3 separate regions of the Homo sapiens genome follow, and all the other regions are linked to region 3. The links are contacts of gene promoters, found by promoter capture Hi-C in blood cells and fetal thymus (Javierre and others, 2016). All regions are on one chromosome and are shown on one strand. The core of a region is centred on a gene start or on the middle of the fragment in contact, and the rest is flanking DNA. Distances in the headings are between cores, read along the strand shown.

Evidence for each region. The method cuts DNA at HindIII sites, captures the fragments that hold promoters and counts their contacts. A CHiCAGO score of 5 or more calls a contact.
Region 1: a fragment that was not itself captured here is called in contact with the fragment with the promoter of TM7SF3 in region 3 in 2 of 17 cell types (M2 macrophages and total B cells); the score reaches 6.5 in M2 macrophages.
Region 2: a fragment that was not itself captured here is called in contact with the fragment with the promoter of TM7SF3 in region 3 in 5 of 17 cell types (neutrophils, M2 macrophages, monocytes and 2 more); the score reaches 9.8 in neutrophils.

The regions. Positions count from the first base shown.
Region 1 is chr12:27,123,355-27,128,225 of GRCh38, reverse strand. It overlaps the pseudogene LOC124902904. Among named protein-coding and RNA genes, the nearest start is that of C12orf71, 43 kb to the right of the region's middle. The HindIII fragment of the contact is 2,783 bases long and covers 1,518-4,300 here.
Region 2 is chr12:26,910,892-26,915,155 of GRCh38, reverse strand. It overlaps INTS13 (integrator complex subunit 13), which reads left to right. Exons shown (of 17, transcript NM_018164.3): 12 at 578-748; 13 at 1,028-1,182; 14 at 1,469-1,699; 15 at 3,839-3,978. Among named protein-coding and RNA genes, the nearest start is that of INTS13, 25 kb to the left of the region's middle. The HindIII fragment of the contact is 9,163 bases long and covers 1-4,264 here.
Region 3 is chr12:27,011,713-27,016,392 of GRCh38, reverse strand. It overlaps TM7SF3 (transmembrane 7 superfamily member 3), which reads left to right and starts at 2,009. Exons shown (of 12, transcript NM_016551.3): 1 at 2,009-2,315. The coding sequence starts at 2,225. RefSeq lists a silencer at 1,817-2,316. The HindIII fragment of the contact is 5,016 bases long and covers 1-3,000 here.

The DNA of each region.
Region 1 (4,871 bases), core at 1,660-4,159, 110 kb before region 3:
GATGAAAAGCAAAGCTGGTCAGAAAGCAGCAGGGATCGGAGGGTGGTAGGACGGGGACTGCTTCATGGGACTGGGAGTCGGGGACGCAGGGAGAACAGCCAGCACCCCTGCAGAGAGCATGTCCCGTGGCTGAACTCTTTTAAGTTATGAGTATTTTTATTTTTATGGTAACTTTTAAAAATATACATTTGGGATTAATATTATCTAACTTTTAATGTAAAAATAAGAGAGAAGTATATTATGATGATTTAACAGGTCAGAAGCCAGTCCAGAACATCTCATTTCCCCTGTTTACACTCTATCTATCTCATAGGTGATGATGCCTGCTTTGGCGTTACTACCATTAGTATTCACCATTAGTATTTCACTCACTTTTTTGAAAATTGTATTCTTGTAATTTCTGCTGACTTTGAGATGGCCTCATAATTAAAACTGCCAAATAGTCAGACACTTTCGGGATTTCACTACCTGATCCCCTGCTGACATGGATCAAGGTCATGATCCTCAGTTAAAAAAAATTATAAGAATGTTCTAGGGCAACTCATCAAGTTAGACCTAAAGTAAATAACTACTTGCTTAACTCAAACAATTAGACATATTTTTACATTTGCCTTCTTACATCTAGAGCTTCATAAAGCAAATAATTCTCCATTTTTAATATCTGTGTTCACACATTATAATATCTCACAATCAAAACAGAAAATTCAGCCTCAGTAATTAAACAAATATGTCATAGTCTACAGTTTTTTTTAACCACAGGAGACACACTTCTGAATTTTAAAAGAAATTTGTTCATTTCCAGAAGCCTAGAGCTACACTAATAAATTCATTCTTATAGATTTAATGTCCCTTCACTGTAACAGGCTACTAGTGTTGGTATTTTATCTCATTCAGTGTCTGATCATATGAAACAAACAGGCAGGAGCAATTAGTAGTAAAGAAATAACCTGCATCCTAGAAGAAACCAGGGGATCTCCCCGGCCCAGGCAAAATGATAATTTGAACTGCAAATGCCCAGTTGCACTAATGAAAAGGTTAGTATCCATCTTAAAGTACAGGGCCTCTCAAGTTGGCCATCATTAAACATGAATGGAACCATAATTATATATCTGTTATTATTAACAGATACATAATTATTTCCAAAAATTTTTGAATTTAAGTTTTTCTAAAATATTCCAGAAGCTTCTCTTCAGTCTGAGAAACGTTTGCACTCTTTTGTCACAAGAAGTGAACTATGTATGGGTAGTTTGTAACTTTATTCCCCTTGTAACTGGACCTAATTCTCTTTCCCTCATTGCAAAGGGATGCTGTTAAACATTTTCCCTCTATTCTCTACACTCTACTCTTCAGTATTACCTCTCTGACTAGCCTTTTTTCCAGGTGTATTCATAAGCCCTCAGCATACATTAGTTCATAGGATCCTTACAATACTAAGTGGCAGTAACAATCATCCCCATTTTACAGATGAGAAAACCAAGACACAGAGCTTCAGACATTTTCACAAGGTCATACAAGCTTTGAAGAGTTAGGGCCAACGTTAAAATTCAGGTCTGCTGTCACTACAGCCTGCATTTGAAACTGCATAGATATAATCCTGCCTTATCATTCACTGCTTTCTTTTTTAAAACATCATAATCTCTTTTATTTGGGCAGTTTTCCCATGTTCAATATGAAGGGGGAATTTGCTAGGATTCTGTGTTCCTTAAATTCTAAGACGCCATCAACTTTAATTTTTTATTGTGGTAAAATATATATGTAAAATTAACCATCTTAACCATTTTAAAGTGTATAGTTCAGTGGTAGTAAGCACATTTACATTGTTTTGCAGCCATCACCATCGTCCATGTAAATAACTCTTTTCATCTTGCAAAACTGAAATTCTATGCACAATAAGTATTATCTTCCCATTCCCTGCTCCCCTCAGCTCCTGGCAGCTACCAATCTATTTTCTGTCTCTAAAATTTGACTATTCTAAGTATCTTATTAATAAAAAAAGGAAAGAAGGGAGAGAGGAAGGGAGGATGGATCTGAGCTAAAATGTATACACATCCCCATTTTAAGATCATAAAACACAGCCCAACTTCTGAAATATTAAATTGGAAAAATCTAATATTATCAGCAAATCACTAAATTATAAGCATATAATCTTCTACTTGTTGGATTCCCAATGCTGGCCCAAATTCCTTTTTGGTTCTAAAATAAAGTCTATCGTGGTAGGTGTGTGGTGACAACTCAATTTCACACCTATGCTTTTATGGTTCCAAACAGCCAGTCCTGCTCTTTTTGCCTTTTGCTGTTTTTCTTCTTTCATCCTGTCATTCTCTGTGTGCTTGAGAAAACACACTTAATTTGGAAGGTTGGGGTCAAGGTGAGGAATTCATATAGATAAGTTAGATAGATATAAATAAATTTAGCAACAGCAACAAAAGTCCCTTATCTCTCTGGATCTACATCTAGTTTATTTTGTTATTGTTACTTTTAGGATAAAAACCGAATCTTCATTAGTTCTGTAAAATATCTGTCATTTTGTGGATTCTCAAAGTTAAAATGTCAAATAGTAAGAGAGAAAGCAACTGAAAACACAGATCAACAAGCCATTACCCATCCAAGGAATAAATTTAAAACAACTTCCATTCATTCAAACATGCAATCCACTTTATCATTCATGGAGCATCATTCATTACAAATATAACTACTGAGCCAGGCATTCTTCTAAACACCAGGGATACAGTAAATTTTTAAAAATAATGGCAAAAATTGGATTCATGATGCTTACATTCCAGTTGAAAAGACAGAAAATAAATGATATAAACATTACAAATACATTGCACATAAGAAAGTGGTGAATGCTAAGAACAAAATAAAGCAGGGAGATGTAAGACAAAGAATAAATGGGTATAATTTTAGTTAGGGTGGTGATACAAGGCCTAACTGAGATCACAACTTTTGAGTAAATACCAGAAGAATGTGAGGGAGCTAGCCATGCAAATATCTAGGGACAGAGCTTTCCAGGCAGAGTGAAAAGCCAGTGCCTGGAAAAGCCAGTGCAAAGGCTCTGAGGCCAGTGTACCTGGCATGTTTAAGAATCAGTGAAAAAGCCACTGTGCTTGGCGTGGAGCGAATAAGGAGATGTGTGACAAGAGATGAAGTCAGAAAGTCATGGGGAGCAAATCCTACGAGGCCTTGCAGCCCACAGTAAGCACTGTGGTTTTTACTCTGAGTAAGATGTGATGCCATTGGTAGTTTCTGAAAAAAGGAGTGAGTGTCATGATCTAACTTATATTCAGATGTAACCATCATTACTTTTTATCATTTCTGAAAATACTTTCACAGAACAGATTAAGCACATGTTAATGGACATGTTTTAGACACATGTCAAAAGCTGAACTACAGGTACGCTTCGGCTACTATTGCCATTGGTGGCCTCTGGGTGTGGGATAGAAATACGTTCTTCTAACAATAGTAAATTCCTTTTTCACTGCATGCTAAATGGTCAGAAGAACATGGAGTAAAGAAGGGGTGAGATAGGACATTGAAATAGACTAAGGAATATGTCAGGAAACACCAAGTACAGAGCATGAAGCAATCCCTAAAGAAATCAGCAAACCTGGACCCTTAAGTCTCTGGAGGAGAAATCTGTAGAGCAAATAGAAAGTATAATAGTAAGGCATTATGTGTTTTAACAAGTAAAATAACTCCAGTTTGTATAGCTGCACCCCCACTAAAGGATAGATTGTACTATTCGCTCTCAGAAACGCAGAGGTAAACCAGGTGGGAACACAGAGTATTCAGCACAGGACTGGCTGGGAGCTCTAATATTTGTGTCACATCATATGAAAATGTTTTAGCTGTAGGATGTACTCTTAAGGTTCCCAAAGCAAGCAGTTTTCATGTCTACCACAGATCCAAAAGTAGATCACAATTCTTTCATACGATTCTCATTAGTTTTGATATAAACACAGTTAACTCATAAGCATATGAGTGCATCTTACTGAAAATTGAATATCCTTTAGGCACAAAATATCTCCTTTCCTCTGTCCTCCACTGAATCTGTTTTTGTGACACTATTTAGATTTTATGTGTCCATCACAGATTAAAAGCATGGTATTTACCACTGTATCGAGACAAAGGGTAGCTCTGCCACATCATCAATTTTTGAGAAGGATGCCTAGAAAGAGGCCTCGTTGTTTAGTGAGTAACACCATTAACCCATTTATGCTGGAGGTTGCTAATTTTTTTGTGAAAAATCAGAACTGGGCGATGACATTGAGCAGTAGGATATAAATAACTCCCACAAGCTTAGCGTTCCAATAATGGAACACTACGCATAAATGGGTTAAAGGCCCAATTCCCCAATTTAATTCAAGAACTGGAACTGAAATGATTGAAATAAACCACCAGATGGCACTTCAGGTCAAATACTTAACCCCTGTGGCTTTTGAATGTCTTTCATTATGCTTTCCATGTAGCATTGCTATTGAGTCCTTTATAGTGAATAACCCAATATGACTGAGAAATCATCAATTATGTGCAAGATTCTTTCCCTTAAAGGACTATTTGATTTAAGCCACAGTAGGTCATTCAGGCACAATCTAAAAGCCAGTCTGTTTTTATGGGCAGAATCAGGTGACCTGTTGTTGGTATTTACAAAATGTACACTAATAGCACTTTTTAAAAAGTTATTCTTAGAGTCGAAAGAAAATTAAGATATCTTAAGGAATAAAATAGAGCACATCTGTTGCCCTATACTTTTTTTTTGTTCTAATCAGCTATTCTATGTTCTAAATTTTGGAATAAGCAACAAAAGATTCATAATACAGAATTTGTAACAGGCAGACACCTACCATTTGACTTTGAAACCATTCAATTAG
Region 2 (4,264 bases), core at 1,717-4,216, 100 kb after region 3:
CTCCTGGGTTTAGGCGATTCTCCTGCCTCAGCTTCCCGAGTAGCTAAGATTATAGGCGCCTGCCACCATGCCCAGCTAATTTTTGTATTTTAGTAAAGATGGGGTTTCACCATGTTGGCCAGGCTGGTCTCGAACTCCTGACCTCAGGTGATCCACCTGTCTTGGCCTCCTGAAGTGTTGGGATTACAGGTGTGAGCCACCGTGCCCAACCTCAAGGTAGTTTTTAAATAAGCAAATGGGTCTTCTAATGTGATTAACTGACTCTTTTATCTGTGTGTGATAGAAAAGTTAAATTACAGAAGGGGAAAAAAAGTGTTCCTTGGTTTTTACAAAAGGTGGGGAAAACATACCATGAATGCATTTATGTTTGAGGCTTTCTTCATTTTCATCATATAAAGGCTGATAGGTTTCAAGTTCAGAAAGGATAAAAAAGTAGTGGAGTTAAGGGATACTGTTAGAAAAAATGTTTTGTTGCACATCACAGGACAGAAGACATCAGGGAAACAGACTAGTACATGTAATCCATACTGAAACATTAGACATAGTTTCTAATTTTATCTTATTTGGTTATCATTAGGATTTTGGTGAATTTATGAGGGAAAACAGATTAACTCCTTTTCTAGACCCCAGATATAAAATCGATGGAAGTCTTGAGGTCCCTTTGGAACGAGCAAAAGATCAGTTAGAAAAACATACCCGTTACTGGCCTATGATCATTTCACAAACCACCATTTTTAACATGCAAGCGGTAAGTGTTAAGTAGCTTCAACTTTTCTTATAGATTAGTTATATATTCTTTATAGAAATCAATTAGACAATTTGTAATTTATACCATTTCTTAAGCAAAGAATGAAATATATGAGCTTGCTAAAGTTAAAGAATTAATAATTAAAAATTGAAGTGATAGTTATAGATTCCTTCACCATGATAATCTTTAAAATCCTTTCGAAAATCAAGTTCTGCCTAGATGTTTTGATATTTATTTTTCAAGACAGATTTTCTTTTTTCTTTAAAAAAAATCTAACAGGTAGTTCCATTAGCCAGTGTTATTGTGAAAGAATCTCTGACAGAAGAAGATGTGTTAAACTGTCAAAAAACAATATACAACTTAGTTGATATGGAAAGAAAAAATGATCCTCTACCTATTTCCACAGTTGGTACAAGAGGAAAGGGCCCTAAAAGGTACATTTTTTTTTCTTTCTTACTTTATAGATCACATTTACTTGATACATATTGTTTCTCAAGATAACTTATTCCATATGTAAATTCTATTTGAGGACATGTTTATATATATATTTGAGATGAAATAATACAAAATCATAGAAATGGATATATTGTAGCCTAGAATTTCACTATTAAGTACCAAGTAAGAGGAAGGAAGTCCACATTTCATTATTTGTTTTTACTTTACCACTAGAAAGTGACACTTCAATATTATTTAAAGAGTATTTCCAAATCTTTGCTGCAGAGATGAACAATACCGTATCATGTGGAATGAATTAGAAACCCTTGTCAGAGCCCATATCAACAACTCAGAGAAACATCAAAGAGTCTTGGAATGTCTGATGGCATGCAGGAGCAAACCCCCAGAAGAGGAAGAACGAAAGAAACGAGGAAGAAAGAGGGAAGACAAAGAGGACAAGTCAGAGAAAGCAGTGAAAGATTATGAACAGGAAAAGTCTTGGCAAGACTCAGAGAGGTGACTTCCTGGCATTGATATAGCACCATGGTGCCTTTTGTTATATCACATTCTGCATAGAACACTTTCATACATTCAAACCTGATTTAATAGTAGTTCATTTAATACATGTTTATTCATTTTCATTACTGTAATTTTATCATTCTTAAAATCTAGAGGATCTTTCTTGGGCACAAAAAAGTATGAATTTTTACTGTTGGGGCAAAGTTAGTGTTAGTTTTTCCTAATTAACTTCTGAAAATCATAATGCATGATGTTTGGTATCAGTATGTGCTTTATGTGTTGTGAACTTCACAGACATAATTTTATTCCTCTGTTCACTAAATATTTACTGAATGCTTATGATGTGCCAGGCATTTGGCACAAGATCCCTACCCTTGAAGAACATACAGTGTGATGCTAGAGACAGACAAATTAGTGATTGCAGGCTGGGTGCAGTGGTTCACACCTGTAATCCCAGCACTTTGGGAGGCCGAGGCGGGTGGATCACTTGAGGTCAGGAGTTTGAGACCAGCCTGGCCAACATGGCAAAATCCTGTCTCTACTTAAAAAAATACAAAAATCAGCTGGGTATGGGGGTGCATGCCTGTAATCTCAGCTACTCAAGGGGCTGAGGCACGAGAATCACGTGAACCTGGGAGGCAGAGGTTGCTGTGAGCCGAGATTCCTCCACTGCACTCCAGCCTGGGCAATAGAGTAAGACTTTGTCTCAAAAAAAAAAAAAAGTGATTGCAGCAAAGTGTGGAAGGTGCTATTATAAAAATAGGCATAGGATGTCCTTGGAAGCACAGAAGAAGGGCATACAGTCTATTCTGAAAATGTTTCTTAATAGTATACTCTTTTCCTTTAGTTTGTGATTTATATTATGATGTCAGCGTTAAATCTGAAAAACATAAAAGTAATAAAGGCTTATAAATAGAAATAGCGTATCCTCTGGCTATATCCTCTATCCACTTGCCAGAAATCAGACCAACACCAGGTCACTTTTTTTAAAATTAATTAATTTTTATTTATTTTTTTGAGACAGAGTCTCGCTCTATCACCCAGGCTGGAATGCAGTGGCATGATCTCGACTCACTGCAGCCTCTGCCTCCTGGGTTCAAGTGATTCTCATGCCTTAGCCTCTCAGGTAGCTGGGATTATAGGTATGTGCCACCATGCCTGGCCAATTTTTTGTATTTGTAGTAGAGATGGAGTTTCACCATGTTGCCCAGGCTGGTCTCGATCTCCTGACCTCAGGCGATCTGCCCATCTTGGTCTCCCAAAGTGCTTGGGATTACAGGCATGAGCCACTGCGACTGACGAAAAACACATCTTTTTATGATGGAAAATTTCAAACATATGTAGCAAAAGAACAGATAGTTACTCATCATCTACCTTCAATGATTAACAATTCATGGCAGATCTCATTTCATATATATCTTCATCCACTACCTTTACCACTACACCCATAGGAATATTTTGAAGCTAATTCTGGAAATCCTGTAATTGTATCCATTAATAATAGAATACTTTTATTCTCTTTGACTTTAGAAGCTCATGTTTTCCTTAGGGCTGCTGAGCTTCTGAAACACTACTGGCTCACTGTAAGAGGGAAAAAGTACTATCATTTAGGTCCCACTGAGCTTCAAGTACACTCTTGTATATTTTGCAAGTGTTTTTGTTCTCTGATGAAACTCTAAAAGTTTAGAGTTAAGTTTCTGATTTGCAGAACATAAATACATCTACACAATACATAGACTAGAGAATAAATGGGAATAAACTTATTAATCTTATTTGTAATTTGAAATTCAGTGTTATTTTGTTCCTATCTTTAAAAATCAGAATTGTGCAATTTCTTCTGAAGATCACATCATTTCCTACCTTTTAAATTTTAATTTAAGTATCTTCTTTTTTTTTATATTTTACAGCTAATTCCTGAATCATTGCATTATTATTATGAAGGAAAAGGGAAACTTGTATTTAATTCATTAATTTCTGTTACCTGGTTTTAGATTGAGATTTTTGATTAGTCCCTAGGTTTATTTTATGAGATTAGCCATCTTTTATAAAGGTTGATATGCAAAGTTAGTTTAATTATTAGACCATTAGACTTCTAAAAATTTGAACTTTACATTTCATTATTTGTCCCTCTAAAAGATTAAAAGGAATCTTAGAGCGTGGAAAAGAAGAATTGGCTGAAGCTGAGATTATAAAAGATTCGCCTGATTCCCCAGAACCTCCAAACAAAAAACCCCTTGTTGAAATGGATGAAACTCCACAAGTGGAAAAATCAAAAGGTAAGGTACAGCTGTGGTAACTAGGTTTATAAAAAGTTTTCCAGGCCGGGTGTGGTGGCTTACCCCTGTAATCCCAGCACTTTGGGAGGCTGAGGCAAGCAGATCACCTGAGGTCAGGAATTCAAGACCAGCCTGGCCAGCATGGTGAAACCCCACCTCTAATAAAAATACAAAATTAGGCGGGCATGGTGACACACACCTGTAATCCCAGCTACTTGGGAGGCTGAGGCTAGAGAGTCGCTTGCACCTGGGAGGCGGAGGTTGCAGTGAGCCAAGATCGCACCAT
Region 3 (4,680 bases), core at 760-3,259:
TATATGTGTATTTAATTATGTACTTAAATCTAAAAGTGGATTATACCAAATCTACAAAAATAAGATTTTTAAACATTTTTGATGCCGATTACTTTATTAAAGTGTATATTCCCAGTATCCCTACCTAAGAATGCCTCCTTCTTAGCTCTTTTATCCACACTGGATGTTTTATACTTTTAAAATGTTTACATCTTAGTTTGTTAATTTGATTTTTTTATTTGTTTACTAGTGAGATTGAACTTTTTTCATGTATTTACTGGTAATTTGTATTTCTTTTTTGGGGTGAAATTCCCCATTCATGTCCTTTGCTAATTTTTTTTTTTTGGTCAACTTGCCTTTTCATATTGTTTGTGTGTTTACTTTAATAAAATTTAAATATTTATGTAAAAAGCATTTACGTAGCCAAGTCTACCAATCTTTTCCTTTATGGTTGTTTCCTTTGCTGTTTTGCTTCTTAGAAAGCTCCTCCCATTTTGAGATCAATTTATTAAAAAAAAAAAAGAGCGCCCTCTTCTGCTAGCTCTTTTATGGTTTTATTACTTTGGGATTTTGTTTTCACAATTAGTGTGAGATAGAGTTCTGCTTCTCTCTGCCCATAGTGCAGCTAATCAGTTAAGAACACAATTTATTGAATAATCCATCCACTGATTCAGATGCTACCCTTATCATAATTGTCCCTTTCATCTTCCTTGGATTTCATCTACTGAGGGTTATAGGAATAGGGGCATGTGGGAGAGTGAATAAGCACTACAGAAATAGATAGTGCTACCAAAGGTGTGAAAATTTGGACCAGGCAGTGGGAAAGCAGAGAAAGAATTGTGCCTATGACAAAGATTATTTGCTTGGCCAAACTCTAGTACGGCTTCTGAATCTTCTGCTAGGTCCATCTGTGCACTTCTTTGTAAAAATCCAGTTTTAGCAAAGAACCCCCTTTCCTCCATATCTAATCAGTTTTCTCACCCTGCACCATCCCCCAGGTGATGTTATGTCTTCAGAAGTCCTGTTAGGTCAGTTTCACCAAATGCCCCTTACCTCTGATGCTTCCTCTTAGTAATTTTCCATCCACTGAACTCCATACTGCTGGTTGGCTATAAATTCCCTCTTGCCCACGCTGTATTCGGAGTTGAGCCCAGTCCCTCTTCCCCACTGCAAGACCCAGTTGCAGTGGTCCCTATGCCAATTGAGACAGTCCTCAATAGTCTTCGTTCGGTGCTTTAACAAGTATCATTGAATAATTTTGTCTTTAACACTTCTTCACATTATGGTCACAGCTATATATTGTTAGCTTAGTAGTGGACTAACTGAACATGTAATTTCCAAGCTATAAGTTGCTCATCAAAATATATAAGTGAAAAAAATTAAAACCAGGGAAGGAAAGCAAGACAATCCTCCCCAAATAACGTTAAGTCTATGCGTCTAATTCCACATCATCGATGAGCCATCTGTCACATGGACTACTGTCCCTCAAACAGCACTCAGGTATGAGACTTGAGACGAAGTTCAGACCAAGGCCGTGTCTTCGAGGATATTTCGCTTAGAGAAAACGAAACTACTTTTAAATGTAGTGCTTATGACTAGTGCGGTAACCACTACACAAACAGCATTCTCCTGGCATTTTTATGCTAACATAAGCCTCAGCAGCGAAGACAATTGCTACCGGGGGAAATAACCTTCAATTGTGTTTTTAGCAACTGATTCCTCTTTTTTGCTGTTGTAAAGGGCCGTTAAACACGGAAACAGGAGCCTGGCGACGTTAGTCCGCAACAGAAAGTTATTTTGTACTTTCACAGTGGGTTTGCCTACTTGGTGAGATAAAAGTGGGGCAAGACCGGGCCTCAAGCCAGGACTTCCTGGGGGCTCCCGGGAGCACCGCAGGCTGCGCGTTCCCCGCGCGCCGGCAGGAGGCGCGCGCTGCCTGGAAACGCCCCAGCGCCGCCCGCGCCCAGAGACCCGCCGCTGTGACGCAGCGAGAGCCCGGGAGGAGGCGCGGGAACGCGCGTTGGGGGTCAGGTGCCGGAAGAGGAAACCTCTCGCTGGGGCTAGGAGTTCGGCGGGGCGCGCGCCGGCGGCTGCGGAGCTGGCAGGTGCGAAGCGTCTGCACCTGGCGGGCGATGGCGCCCGATGCGGGCGCCCCGGGATAGCGTGGGCGAGGCTGCGGGGCCCCGGCGCGCACGCCCGCACCTCTCCCCAGCCCTGGCGTGGGCCCAGCCCGGCCCAGGCAGCAATGGGGTTCCTGCAGCTGCTGGTCGTAGCGGTGCTGGCATCCGAACACCGGGTGGCTGGTGCAGCCGAGGTCTTCGGGAATTCCAGCGAGGGTAAGGTCGGGGCGCCTGGCTTCTGCAACCCAAAGTTGCTTTTGCATTTCTTGCGAGGTCAAAATCCGCCAGGGGTCTGTCAGCCTAGCAGGGAGATGGTGCTGGGGGCGTTGGTACACGCTGGGTGGTGAGTCCAGAACCGGCACGAATGGTGTTTCCTGCAGCGGAAACACTCATGGCTAAGGAGGTCTTACTATTAACCTCCTCATTTAGCGGAGGAAATGGGAAGAGATAAATAATTCTCTTTTTTTAACACAGTATTATCTCCCTTAGGGAGCAGCCATGTTTGTGGCTTTAATTCAACTTACTAAAGCGCCTCTTTGCTGCCCAGTGGACTGTCTGAGCTTCTGGACAGCAAGACTTGGGGTGGAACTAGCGGCTTAATGACTGATGGCTCTCAAGCTGCATGGAATTTTTACACCCCCAAATCTAGAGGCTTTTCAAACTGGTTATGTTCTACAGAGTTTGAGAGGGAAAATGAACCCATAATGAGGCTTTATTTTTAAAGAGCCTTTACCATCTAATTTATTAATACCATCTGGAGACAGGAAAACATTCCATACTCACAATGAGAAATAAAGGACTTTCTGAATTACAGATACATAGACATACAGATAGAATGTGTATACCCTCAATTCTACAAGTTCAGCCACAAATGAAAAATAAACACAGAAACACAAAAGCTTGCCAGTCCAGGTATCAGAGTTGTTCTCCTTACTTGAGGGCAAGAAATTTCTAATCGATTTGACCTTAAAAAAGACAAATGGACAAAAACTGTGTTCTCTGTTGTCTCATATCCAACAGGAAATAGATCTCTATGAGATATTAATTCGTTTACAGAGATCACAAAATTCCCAATCATTGCAGCTACCAACAGGAAATAACTTGTCATCCATAAATGAACTGTAAAAAATAACAATTTAATAGAGAGTAAAACTAAAATGAGAAAAACAAGAATCAACGAAGTTCTATTGCCACTTCAAATTCACCTGTGGGAGCCAAGAAGCAACATGCCCGGGCTTGGCTCCCTATGAGTACACCATTTTTGATGATTTCAGGTGACTTTTTTTTTTTTTTTTTTTGACGGAGTCTCGCTCTGTCGCCTAGGCTGGAGTGCAGTGGCATGATCTTGGCTGACTGCAACCTCCGACACCCGGGTTCAAGCAATTCTCCTGCCTCAGCCTCCAGAGTAGCTGGGATTACAGGCGCCCGCCACCACACCCAGCTAGTTTTTGTATTTTTAGTACAGGCGGGGTTTCACCATGTTGTTCAGGCTGGTCTCGAACTCCTGACCTCGTGATCTGCCCGCCTTGGCCTCCCAGAGTGCTGGGATTACAGGCATGAGCCACCGCGCCCGGCCGATTTCAGGTAATTCTTGTTCATCTCAGTGAGAACTCAGAATGGGATGTTAGATTGTAAGTCTTGTGCTTGGTGAATGGGTTTGGGCAACAGCTCATGGTTTGTTAATATAAAATGTAAAAGGCACTAGTTGTGCCAGGCAGATCATCATGTGCTTTTCCATGAAACTAAGCACATTCTGTTTTGTTTTGAGGTTAATAGACTAGTTGCAGTTCTGAAACATAATATTTTCTGAATAATGTGATTGTGTTGCTATGCACTTATCTTTGAAAAGCCCTTGTGCAAACTGAATTCTAGGATCTTTGTATATAGGACTGAGGCCAAAGCTGAAAAGGGCAACTTTTTTTTTTGCAGAAAAACCTTGCTTATAATAGGGCACTAACATTCACTCTGTATAGTGTGTGCCAGGTGCTTTCCACGTGCAGTGTTATTTAATCCCCACCACCCTACAATGTAATGATCTTCCTCCCTTGTCAGAGGAACAAATGAACAGCTGCTAGGGTTACAGATAGGACTTGAACCCAGGTGAGTCTCCCTGCAAATTTCATAGTCCTTCCACTTCCGTAAAGCTGTCTTCCAATAAGAATATCTTACATGGCATGGTGCTTTGTACTTAATCCTTCTGTGAATCCTCATTCTTCAAAATAGCCTTATGATGGAGGTAGAAGAGATGCTATCTCTATTTTAACAGGTGAAGAATTTGAGATATTAGAGTTTTTAGTTGATCGAGGCCAGCCCCTGAGTCAGGAGAGCAGGCGTCCAGAACTTTTTCTTTCTACTTGGTGTTAGTATTTAATACCTAGAAATTTTTATACAAAAGTTAAAAAATATGAATAAATTGAGAAATTAATTTTTTTCAGACACTGCTTTTTGCCTCTTTGCTATGATTATAGCACTGATATTCCTCAATGTTATTCTTTTTGCCTTGCATTGGTATTGTCATTCTGTGCAGAAGAGGGACAATGTGGGGACTTAACTGCTGAGTGATAATAAAAGCTGATATTCT